2 separate regions of the Homo sapiens genome follow, and region 1 is linked to region 2. Evidence: promoter capture Hi-C in 16 types of primary human blood cells and fetal thymus (Javierre and others, 2016). All regions are on one chromosome and are shown on one strand. The core of a region is centred on a gene start or on the middle of the fragment in contact, and the rest is flanking DNA. Distances in the headings are between cores, read along the strand shown.

Region 1 (5,880 bases), core at 2,189-4,688, 310 kb after region 2:
TAGGCACACACACCACGCACACCACACACACACAAAACACTCCATGTCGACACACAAATCACACACAAACCACACACACAAAACACTCCACATAGACACACATACCATGCACACCACCCACACACAAAAAAACACACCACATAGACGTGTTAGGTAGTTAGACACACATCAGCAGCTGGGAGAGGGTAAAAAGGAGAACAGAGAAGCTGTCATTAAGCCCCTGGCCCACCTAAGTTCAGCCCCGAGCCCGCCCTAACTCCACCATGAGGGACGGAGTTTGAAGTGAAACCTGTGGCCAGCATGTCCTGTGGAAGGGGAAACCAGGGCACAGGTAGAAATCCCTAGAGCAGCATGTGCCCAGTGACCTAAAACTGTAATAACATTTACATGTGGCCCCCCCACACTGGGCTTTTCTTAATGAATTATGGGTAAAAATATGCACAGTTTAATTTTAGCTGTGTCACCATAAGCTGCCAAATGACATCAGCCTGTCACTCAGCCCAAACCTCAGCTACTTCTCACACCCCACAGAAGCACCTTGAGCTCTGTAACCAGGTGCTGATGTCACTTCTCAGAAATCAGCCTGCACACCCTCTGAGACAGTATTACTGGAAATTTCAATCAACCTTGTTTTAAGCTTACATTTTGGTGTTTGCAGTTCTTTGCTCACTGTCACAAGAACCCAGATTGCTGGTTCAGAGCTCTGGCTCTGTGGATCTTGTCGGTTAAAAAATCCATCCGAACACAGAATTCTCGGTAACACACACACAATACACCAGGTGGACATACAACACACACATGCACAAGGATGTTCACGATGACAGTGCTTGAAATAGAGGAAAACAATGCGTCCACATTTCCGTCAGTCAACCGTGGCCCGCCTATGGCCACCCGTCCATAGGGTCTGGATGAGGTCAAACGGGGGCCCCGTCAACAGCACAAGAAAATCATCAGCCAATTTTGCTTGGGAACAAGGGTGCAAAAATCTAAACTTACAGAAATCACTACACAAATCTGACAGTGATTTAAAGATAACACCCGGTGATCAGATAGGAGTGCAGGAGTGCAGAGCGGGCTGACAGGGAAACCTGCGCCTGTTGAGGCAGGAAAATTGGGTCTGGAGGCAGGGAGCATAAGGCAGTTCACACTTCAGCTACCACAGGAAATATCCTCTCCATAGGGCATGGGCCAAGTAAATGACTTTGTAACTTCACTTCATCCTCTCCAGTTACATAGGGTGTACCCCCAAGAAGCCCCATGGCGCCATCACTCCACGGCCCCATCACCCCACGGCCCCGTCGCCCCACGGCCTCGTCGCCCCACAGCCCCGTCGCCCCACGGTCCCATCACCCCATGGCCCCGTCATTTCAGCACTGGCGGCTGCTCTGCCCTGGGATGCGCCTGTCACGTGCAGTGATTTAAACATCAGTGAGGTGATTGATTCAAATACTGCGTACTCTTGCTAGTATTTTCCTTGCATGCTGATATGGTTTGGCTGTGTCCCCACCTAAATCCCAACTTGAATTGTATCTCCCAGAATTCCCACGTGTTGTGGGAGGGACCCAGGGGGAGGTAATTGAATCACGGGGACCGGTCTTTCCTGTGCTATTCTCGCCAGAGTGAATAAATCTCACGAGATCTGATGGGCCTATCAGGGGTTTCTGCTTTTGCTTCTTCCTCATTTTCTCTTGCTGCCGCCATGATTCTGAGGCCTCCCCAGCCATGTGGAACTGTAAGTCCAATTAAACCTTTTTTTCTTCCCAATCTCGGGTATGTCTTTGTCAGCGGCATGAAAAGGGACTAATACACATGCTTTATTGGTGACCAGGAGATGTTTTAAATTTTTCTATATGATTGTGGATTTCTCTTCTTCTTTCTTGGACTCTGCAACTTTGTTTTCTGTAGTTTGAGGCTGGCATCTTCCCGTGGGCTGGGCCCCATGCCACCAGCTGACCCTGGTCTGCTGAGCTCCTTGCCCGTGGTTCCTCTGCTTGGTGTTAATGCAGCCACCCCAGCTTTCCAGACCTCCCTTTCCATTTATCTTTCTGTGGCCTTACATTGAGGGTGTGTCTCCTGCAGGATCCAGTGTATCTTTATCTTTGAATTGAACTTTCTGGTTCTTTTGTTTTGATTCCATTATCTGCGTTTGAATTCTGGCATTATGAATTGTTTTCTGTTTTTCCTACTTGTTCCCTGTTCCTTCTTCTCCTCGTGGCTTCGATTATTTTTTATTCCATGTTTATCCTCTCTTAGCCTGCCAGTTATGAATTACTGTTCATTCAGTAGTTATCCATGTTAAAGTCCAGTGTAAATTCTTCCTGCTATCTCTTACCAGACCACCAAAGATTTACATCACCCCTTTATTCCATCCCACCCTTTGTTCTGTTGTTCTTATGTATTTTAACTCTACTTGCATGTCAAACTCTGGAAATCACTATTGTTATTATTTTCTTTTTCATTTTTTCGGGTCTTGCTCTGTCACCCAGGCTGGAGTGCAGTGGCACCGTCACAGGTCACTGCAGTCTCCAACTCCCAGGCTCTACCAATCCTCCCACCTCAGCCTCCCCAGTAGCCAGTACTACAGGCATACACAACCATGCAGTCTAATTTTTTAAAATTTTTGGTAGAGACAGCGTCTTGCTGTGTTGCCCAGGCTGGTCTCAAACTCCTGGGCTCAAGTGATCCTCCTGCCTCTGCCTCCTAAAGTGCTGAAATTGCAGGTGTGAGCCCCCGTGCCGGACACATTATCATTATTTTCTACCATGTATGCGTCTCTTTATTCACTTCCCTTTCCCGGGTCTGCGTTCCTTCCTTTATCCCCAAGCTCCCACCCCACCCTGGGGGGTCATTTCCTTTCCACCCTAAGAGCCCCTCATCATGGGTGCCGGTCTCTGGGTGGTCACTCCCCGGCCCGTCCGGGGTCACCTCCCTCCCACTCCCCTGCCTGCCTGGGGCCACCTCCCTCCACTCCACTGCTCATCCAGGGTCACCTTCCTCCACTCCCTTGCCTGCCTGGGGTCACCTCCCTCCCACTCCCCTGCCTGCCTGGGGTCACCTCCCTCCCACTCCCCTGCCTGCCTGGGGCCACCTCCCTCCACTCCTCTGCAGCTTCTCTGCATTGCTTCTTCTCCTTCACCTTTTTTGGTTGATTTTCATCTTGTACCCTTGGCATTTTTGGTTGAGTGACAGATGTTCATAGGACAGGTCTCAGGCCACCAGTGGTGCCGTCTCCAGGGAGCCGAGTGGCGCTCGCTCCTGTGGTCACCCAGGGAGGGAGGCCCTTGTGACCCAACTGCAGACTCTGGGAGGGTGGGGTCAGGCTGATTCCCCTTCAGGGTTCCCACCAACAGCTGAGGGGCTTCTCGGGGCCCCTTTGTTTCCTTTGGCCCCATGAGTGCTGAGAGCTGAGTCCGGCTCCCATGGCTCAGCTCAGCTTTTGCTTCCCCAGTTATTGGTCAGCCCGGATCCACGCCGCCCCAAGCATCAGCCCATCATCCTTACTTTCCCCGTCTTTCAGACCTTGGCCCCCAAAATTGTCACTGCTTTAGGAGTTCTTCATTGATTTCGAACAGACATTTTAAGATAGTTTTTTCTAGCTTGTGTTGTGTTTTTAATGGGAGAGTTGGTCAGCGTCTGCTGGAACAGAGCTACGCCTATGGAACCGTAGACTTGTTCGTGCTTTATTGTAAGTTTCAGTCGCTCCTGTGTGCATGTGTGCATGTGCCTGGTGTGTGTGTCTTTGCATGTGTGTGCTCACATCTACATGTGCGTCTGCACATGTGCATCTGTGCATGTGTCCGTCTGTCTGCATGTATCTGTGCATGTGTGTGCACATGTGCATGTGTGTGATCTGAGGCATCTTCCCATGACTGCTGCTTTCTGCTCCAGTTGCTCCTGGCTGAGCATCAGTGCAGCATCAGTGCACCCCCTCAGCACCTGGACACCACTCCAGAGACTTCTGAGCAGAGGCTGACAGCGCAGGGGGGCTTACTAGCTGCCTTTCATGCTGGCCGTGGTGGGTGAGCTGTCCAGCTCTCCTCTCCCAGATCTTCCAGGGGCCAGCAGGCTTCCACTAACCACAGGGCCTGGGGGCACTTCAGTCTACCAGGGCAGATGCTTGCCAGGCCCATGGGGACCAGCAGGCTCCCGCAGGCCCTCCCAAAGCCACATGCAGCAGTGCGGCTGGCAAGCCCCACTTGGGGGAGACCCTGCTGTTGCCGGCCAGGCCTGTGGGACAAGTACAGTCTGACATCTTTGCCGATGGCCTGGAGATGAGCACCCCCTGCTCTCTCCTCGATGTTGCAGCAGAACCCACGCGTAGAGAGGGTTGGGGCGAGCAGTCCAGGCAGACCCCCGGGATTTTCCTGCCGTATTGCACAAGCATTCATGCGTTCATTTAATCTTGCTTTTTTAGGCAATACTTTAAAGACACAAAGTCTCAACAACCATCTTCCGCTTGACGAGACAGATCATTCTAATTTGAGCAGAAGCTACTATGTCCTGCCCTTTGAACGCGGCGGCCCGGACAGCTGACAAGGACACACTGTGTATTTCCATTCCAATTCTGGGAGTGCTCTGAGGCCTCTGGGGGAGAAGGACCCATGAAATATTCAAAACATAAGTGAATAAAATATCTAGGTGCTAGATATGGGCCAGGAAGAGCCCTCGGCCCTGCAAAGTGTGTGTGATGGTGAGAAGCTACCGGAAGAGATGGTCCCTGTGCTTGGTTCATTCCTTGGACATTTATCAAGCTGACGAATGTAGCAGAGGTGCTTCAGTCGGCTGTAATTCCACGGGTGGAGTGCTGGCTGGAGAGTTACCTGGGGCTGTCACACTGCATGGGCTCCGGGACACTGTGGCTGCCCTTATGTGGTGTCCCCGGAGGGCCCTGCAGGTGTCACACCGCTGCTCCACACTGCCACCTGCTGTCAGCATCTGTGCAACGTATCCAGGTCTCTGGGGGCTAGAATGAAAAACATGCATCTCGTAACCAATGAAATCGGGCTTGTCCTGAAGACCTCGTGCATTCATCCATTCTCACACTGCTATAAAGACATACCTAAGACTGGGCACTTCATGAAGAAAAGAGGTTTAATTGGCTCACGGTTCTGCAGGCTTTACAGGAAGCATAGCAGCTTCCACTTCTAGGGAGGCCTCAGGAAACTTATAGTCATGGTGGAAGGTGAAGGCGGGACAAGGCGTCTCACATGGGAGCAGTAGAGAGAGAAAAAGAGGGGGTGCCGCACACTTTGAAACAACCAGATCTAACGATAACTCACTATCATGAGAACAGCACCAAGAAGCTGGCGCTAACCCACTTGTGAAGGACCACCACCATGATCCAATCCCTTCCCACCAGGTCCCACTTCCAACGTTGGGGATTACACTTCACGGTGAGATTTGTGCAGAGAGGACACAGGTCCAAACCATATCACCTGCTGTCTTTTTATTTATTTATTTATTTATTTATTTATTGAGACAGAGTTGCTTCGTCACCCAGGCTGGAGTGCAGTGGCGTGATCTCGGCTCACTGCAAGCTCCGCCTCCCGGGTTCGCACCATTCTCCTGCCTCAGCCTCCCGAGTAGCTGGGACAACAGGCGCCTGCCACCACACCCAGCTAATTTTTTGTATTTTTAGTAGAGACGGGGTTTCACCATGTTAGCCAGGATGGTCTCCATCTCCTGACCTCGTGATCCGCCCGCCTCGGCCTTCCAAAGTGCTGGGATTACAGACATGAGCCACTGCGCCTGGCCTATTGATTTATTTTTGAGATGGGGTTTCGCTCTTGTGGCCCAGGCTGGAGTGCAATGGCACGATCTCGGCTCACTGCAACCTCCGCCTCCCAAGTTCAAGTGATTCTCCTGTCTCAGTCTCCCAAG
Region 2 (5,453 bases), core at 2,341-4,840:
GGGGCTAAGGGCTGCGTGGCCTAAGGGCCTGAGGCCACAGCTGCGGGGGCTTCTTTTAGGCTAGTGGGAGGTGGTGAAGATCCTGCACGCTGGGCGCTATGTCAGCCACATCAGGAGCTCACCGTGTGCAGTCTCTTGGCAGCCTCGCCCTAGGACAGGCACCCAGTTCCTTCCCCACCTCACAGGCGAGGAAACAGCTCAGCAAAGCCCCAGGCTGGTGGATGGCAGGTAAGCGTGAGACCAGCATATGTGCCTCAGAAGCTCATTACACAGCATCTGTCTTCCCAGACCTTCCCAAGCACTTGGATGCCCAAGGCCCAGACCTGTCCGCTTCCCTGTCAGGAAACCCACTGGTACCAAAGGGAGGTAAGGATAGCATCTCTGGGTTCCTATAACCCAATGTTCAGACCGAGGGCTGGCTGCTAGTTAGACCCAATACCCAACCACAGCTTTCATCTTCCAGGACTCACAAGCAAATTTTAAAGTCAACTCAGGAAAGGACGCACTCCAGGAATGCTTTTTACAAGCAGCAGACTTTCTGACTTGGTATCAACAAGGATGTTGGAGGTTACCGCCTGTTGTTGCATGCCCCTAGCACTCACAAGACTGACCTTGACACAGAAAACATTTCAGAGTGACAAGATCTAGGGTGCAACGAGAACCACATCCTTGAAAAATGATGACACGGGAGCCACACTCCTTGGCAGGGAGCAAAGGTCTCTAAGCCCCGAGAGTGGCTGTCGAGTAAGAACTCAACAGATGCTGGAAAGCAGGAGCCTGACTCAAAACTAACTCATTCGTCTTCAAGGCCTCTCAAGTGCAGCAGCAAAGCATCACTTACCTTTATCTCTTCCAAACAACGCAACACAAAAAGCTCTAAATACCTTCATTCTAAGAAGAGCTTTAATTCTTCTCTTAAAATTAACTGAAAAGATTAAGCAACACAAAATTAAACGAGACAGACCTTTATCCCTGGCGCTGCACTGAGACACCACGAAGCATACTCCACACGCAGTGCGTCTTCCTGAACGTAAAACAGCCTTTCGCACAGGGAGCCGAGTCCTGTCACTATAACACCCAGGGGTGGCCGCTTTCTTAGGGTGTAAGGGCGGCTCTAACTGAGGGGGCACAAAGCTCATCCACTTCAGGTCCATTTCCGAGAAACATTTTGGGAAGCTCACTGCAGCGTGGGAAAGGGACTGTGCTCCTGAACGGAGGAGGTGCTGCCACAGGCCTCAGGCAGCAGCACTGGGCACTGGAGGATGCTGGTGAGGCTGGATGCAATCGTAAGCCCAACCTGATGTCTACCTTAGAAATGACTGCCTGGCCCCAGTTAAGCAACCACGGCCTCCCAGCGTGCCGCTCGGCCTCACCTGCGATGAACTGCTCATACTCGATGACGGGGATGTTTTTATTGAGACTTGGAAGATCAAAAAACTCAGACCAGGGAATCCGGACCTGGTGGATGTCAGGACTCTGCCAGTGATAGAGGCGGCCCCATGGAGGCAGGACAAGCACCCACTCCTCCGTCTTCAGCAGAGTCTTCAGGAGAGAGGCGATTCGGATATAGACATCCCTGCGCAGGTTGAAGCCTTCCGGGGGGTTGACGTCATACAGAAGATACCTGAGCAGGGAGAAGGAGGACCACAGGTCTCAAATGCTGAGGTTTCTGCACGGAAAACCCGACTGCTCACAAGTCTCAGCGCGTGGCCCGACTCTAGGCACTTAACAATGGTTCCTAGTTTGTGAAGGCAGTGAGTGGCCTGTTTCTCTATGACCAGTTACTTACGGAGCCTGTAAGCAGAAGCAGCAGACATGCTAACATCGTTTTAACAATTAGCAATAGTTCAACACTAAGGCAGAGGAATCCCAGTGACTGGAACCCAAGAATCAGTACCCACATGGTTCTCAAACTGTTTGGTTTAAAGACCCCTTTACACTGGAAACAATGACTGACGGCTGGTTATGTGCACTATGTCTATTGATACGTCCTATGTTAGACGTTAAAGCTACAAGTATTTAATTCAGCTAAAAATAAGAAGCCATTACATGTTAACAAAAACCACATATTTAAATAAAAAATAAGTGTATTTTAAAAAATGAATTAGAAGAACTGTGATGATGTTCTTAATTTTTGCAAATCTCTTTTGGGTTTGGTGACAGCTGGATTCCCATACCCGTTTCTGCATTCAATCTGTTGTGACATCACAGATCAAGTGGTTTCTAGGAAAACTCCACAGTGCATTCATGAGAAGTGAAAAAGGCGTATAATACTCTGGTACTACTATTAAAACGGCTACAAAAGCTCAGAGATCCAGGACACACTTTAAGATCACTGCCCTAGAGGAAGGACACAAAGCGCCCCAAGGCACAGACAAGTCCCCAAGGCACAGACAAGTCCCCAAGGGCTACAGAAACCCTGTCCCTGGCGCTCTCCTTTCCCTGCTCTGCGCTGGTTTTCCATACTCCCATCGTCGCGAGTGAAGCTGCGTGCAGCGCCCAGGCCTGCGAACGCCACGAGGGGCCGTGCACACCTCTGCGTCCAGGCCCCTCCCGGGGTCCGCTTGGAGATCCCACAGCCACAGGGCGGCCGCGAAGCTCGTCTTGGCCCTGAGAATTCACTGCGGAGCGCCCGCCCGGCACTGACTCCCGGCTCCGCACACCCAGGCCTGGACCCGTGTCACTTGCAGGGGCCTCCGGAGCCAGCCCACGCTCAGCCTGAGCAACCCGGCCCCCTTCCTGGGCTCCCGAGGCTGCGCCCCGGGCCTCGCAGACGACCCCGCCTGCAGACCCGGGCCGCAGTGACGCAGCCTCGACTACAGCCAACCCGCTGGCCCGACCCTGCCCCCAGCCCCCGCCCCATCCCATCCCCCAGACTCCAGCCCGGCCCCGGCCCCTGCCCCTGCCCCTGCCCCTGTCCCGTCCCCGTCCCATCCTTCTTGGCCCCGGCTCCCGCCCCGCCCCCATCCCATCCCTCGGGCCCCCGTTCCTGCCCCCATCCCATCCCACCCCTCCTGGCCCTAGCCCCTGCCCCGCCCCCATCCCATCCCATCACCCTGGCCCCTGCCCCGCCCCCATCCCATCCCATCGCCCTGATCCCTGCCCCGCCCCCATCCCATCCCTCCTGGCCCCTGCCCCCTGCCCCTATACCATCACCCTGGCCCCTTACTCCGCCACATTCCTTGCCCCAGAACCCTGACCCCATCCCATTCCCCTGACCCCTGCCCCCTGACCCCGCTCCATCCCATCCCCCTGGCCCCTGCCCCATAACTCCGCTCCATTCCATCTCCCTGGCCCCGGACCACCCTCCATCCCGTGGGCCTGCCCCTGACCCCATCCCATCTCCCTGGCCCCTGACCCCGCCCCGCCCCCATCCCATCCTCTGACCCTGCCCGGTCCTGGAACCCCAGCGTTGGCACCGTGGACGCGCGTTTACCGTCTGCGGGAAGCCGCCCCCGACAGAATATCGGCCGCCGATTGTCCGGGCCAGAACTCCTGGCCGGAGGCAGAAGCCGGAGGCCAGGACACTGCCCCCAGCAGCAGGAAGACGAAGCTGAGTGTCGCCATGGCCCCGGGCGGCCACGCACTTCCGGCGGCCGCGCCCCGCCCCGGAACCACGCCCCGCCCCCGTGAAATGCGTTCCCAGTAGCCACGGCAACGCCCAGCTCCGCCCTCCCCGCGCATGCGTTATGCGCCATCACCGGCAAGCAGGGGCGGGAGGGGGAACTGCGCGTGCGCAGAGTCTCCGCCCTCCTGACCGCAGCGGCTAGAGGTTCCATTGCAGACCCGGAGGCCGTGGCTGTGGTTCGCGGCGGTGCTGTCGCGGGCGCCCTGGCGCAGCCCACGCAGGGGCTCCTGAGGGTCCGCGAGGCCGGGAGGTCCGGGGGTCGGGAGGTCCCGGGGTCGGGAAGTCGGTGGACCCTGCAGGCCAGTGGGGAGGGTACGCGAGACTGGGGGCCGGGAGGGCTGACGGCTGGTGGCGCGGGGCGGGTCCGTGGGGAGGAGGCCCGGGGCTGGTAGGGGCGGGAGGGCTGGACGGCGGGGGCGGGGCGGAGGAGGGGGTCCGTAGACGGGGTCGGCGCCGGGTGCTCTCGCCCCTCTGGAGCTGGGGTCGGGGCGGGAGCCGCGCATGAGAGCCTGGGTTTCTAGTCGGGGGGCGCCGTCGAGCTCCACACCTGCGGCCTCCTGGGTGCCCCCAACCCTGGAGCCCCGGCGAGGGGGCACCCGGGCTGAGGCCTGGCCCTCCAAGGAGCCCTGGAGGGACTGTGCTGCTAGGGCGCGGGGCTCGATGGGGTGATCTGGAGACCTGGGGGGATCCGGGGCTGCCGCCCCTGCGCTGCCAACCTCCCACCCCGCCCCTTCTGCGAGGCGTTATTAAAGGTCTGGTTTCGGGAGCCAGGTGCGTGCCCGCCGCCGCCGCTCCCCGCAGCCTCCAGGCAGCTCCCGCTGTTCCCCGAGGGCACCAGCACTGGCCGACCGACCTGGCTTGGGGCGCGGCGCTGGCAAACCCGGCCTTCTGAGGGGACGCCACGCTGACTCTAGTGCAGGCAGCCCCCAAAACGGTATAATTGGACGAATTTCTTGAAGGATGCCAGTTACCAAAAAAGAAAATACTAATGCTTATTATCTGTTAAATTTGAGATCAATTTGTTATCAAATTTTCTCACACAGAAAATTCCAGGCCCAGAGGGCCAAGCTGGTGAATCCTACTTAGAGAAGAAATAATAGGAATCCAGCCACTCAGACGATGGACGAGGAGGGGCACTTCCCTGCTCGATGTATGGGCCAGCATTGCCTTGATAGCAAAGTCAGACATCACCAGACAGTAGAACCACAGACCAATGTCTTTCATGAACCAAGACACAGCATTTAAAAAAATTAGCAAATGGAATTTATATCTGCCTATTGTTTACAAAAAAAGCCAAACTTTGTAAAATACTTGAAGAGATTTATTCTGAGCCAAATATGACCCATGACACAGCCTCAGGACGTCCTGAGAACTTGGCCCAAGGCGGTTGTTTTACTGCTTGGTTTTATTCATTTCAGGGAGACATAAGACATCAGTCAGTACATGTGAGGTGTGCATTGGATTGATCCAGAAAGTCAGGACGACTCCAAGTGGAAAGGCCTCCAGGTAATAGGTGGATTCAAAGATGTTTCTGATTGGCAGTTGGTTGAAAGAAGTTACTATCTGAAGGCTTGGAATCAATAGAAAGGAGTGTCTGGGTTAAGAGAAGGGGCTGTGGAGACCGAGGTCCTTATTATGTGGATGAAATCTCATAGGTGTCCGCCCTCAGAGGCAATACATGGCAAATGTTTCCTATTCAGACCTTCAAAAGGCACTAGACTCTCAGCCAGTCTCCTCAGGATCAGAAAAAGAGCTGGAAAGGGAAGGGGAGTCTACAGAATATGAATTTCCCCACAAGACACCGCTTTGCGGGGCCATTTCAAAA

The links. Contacts are between HindIII fragments. The CHiCAGO score rates a contact against its expected background, and 5 or more counts as called.
Region 1: a contact is called between a fragment that was not itself captured here and the fragment with the promoter of POFUT2 in region 2, in 5 of 17 cell types (non-activated CD4 T cells, M2 macrophages, activated CD4 T cells and 2 more). The highest score is 6.0, in non-activated CD4 T cells.

The regions. Positions count from the first base shown.
Region 1 is chr21:45,591,977-45,597,856 of GRCh38, forward strand. It overlaps LINC01694 (long intergenic non-protein coding RNA 1694), which reads left to right and starts at 1,678. Exons shown (of 2, transcript NR_146912.1): 1 at 1,678-1,732; 2 at 4,415-5,880. All of the region lies in intron 1 of LOC107985485 (a long non-coding RNA gene), which reads right to left. RefSeq lists an enhancer at 3,733-4,234 and a silencer at 4,779-5,073. The HindIII fragment of the contact is 5,607 bases long and covers 636-5,880 here.
Region 2 is chr21:45,284,305-45,289,757 of GRCh38, forward strand. It overlaps POFUT2 (protein O-fucosyltransferase 2), which reads right to left and starts at 3,591. Exons shown (of 9, transcript NM_133635.6): 1 at 3,437-3,591; 2 at 1,374-1,624. The coding sequence starts at 3,567. LINC00205 (long intergenic non-protein coding RNA 205) reads left to right here and starts at 3,748. Exons shown (of 3, transcript NR_026943.1): 1 at 3,748-3,940; 2 at 5,047-5,134. RefSeq lists a silencer at 3,518-4,047 and an enhancer at 4,202-4,932. The HindIII fragment of the contact is 9,019 bases long and covers 1-5,453 here.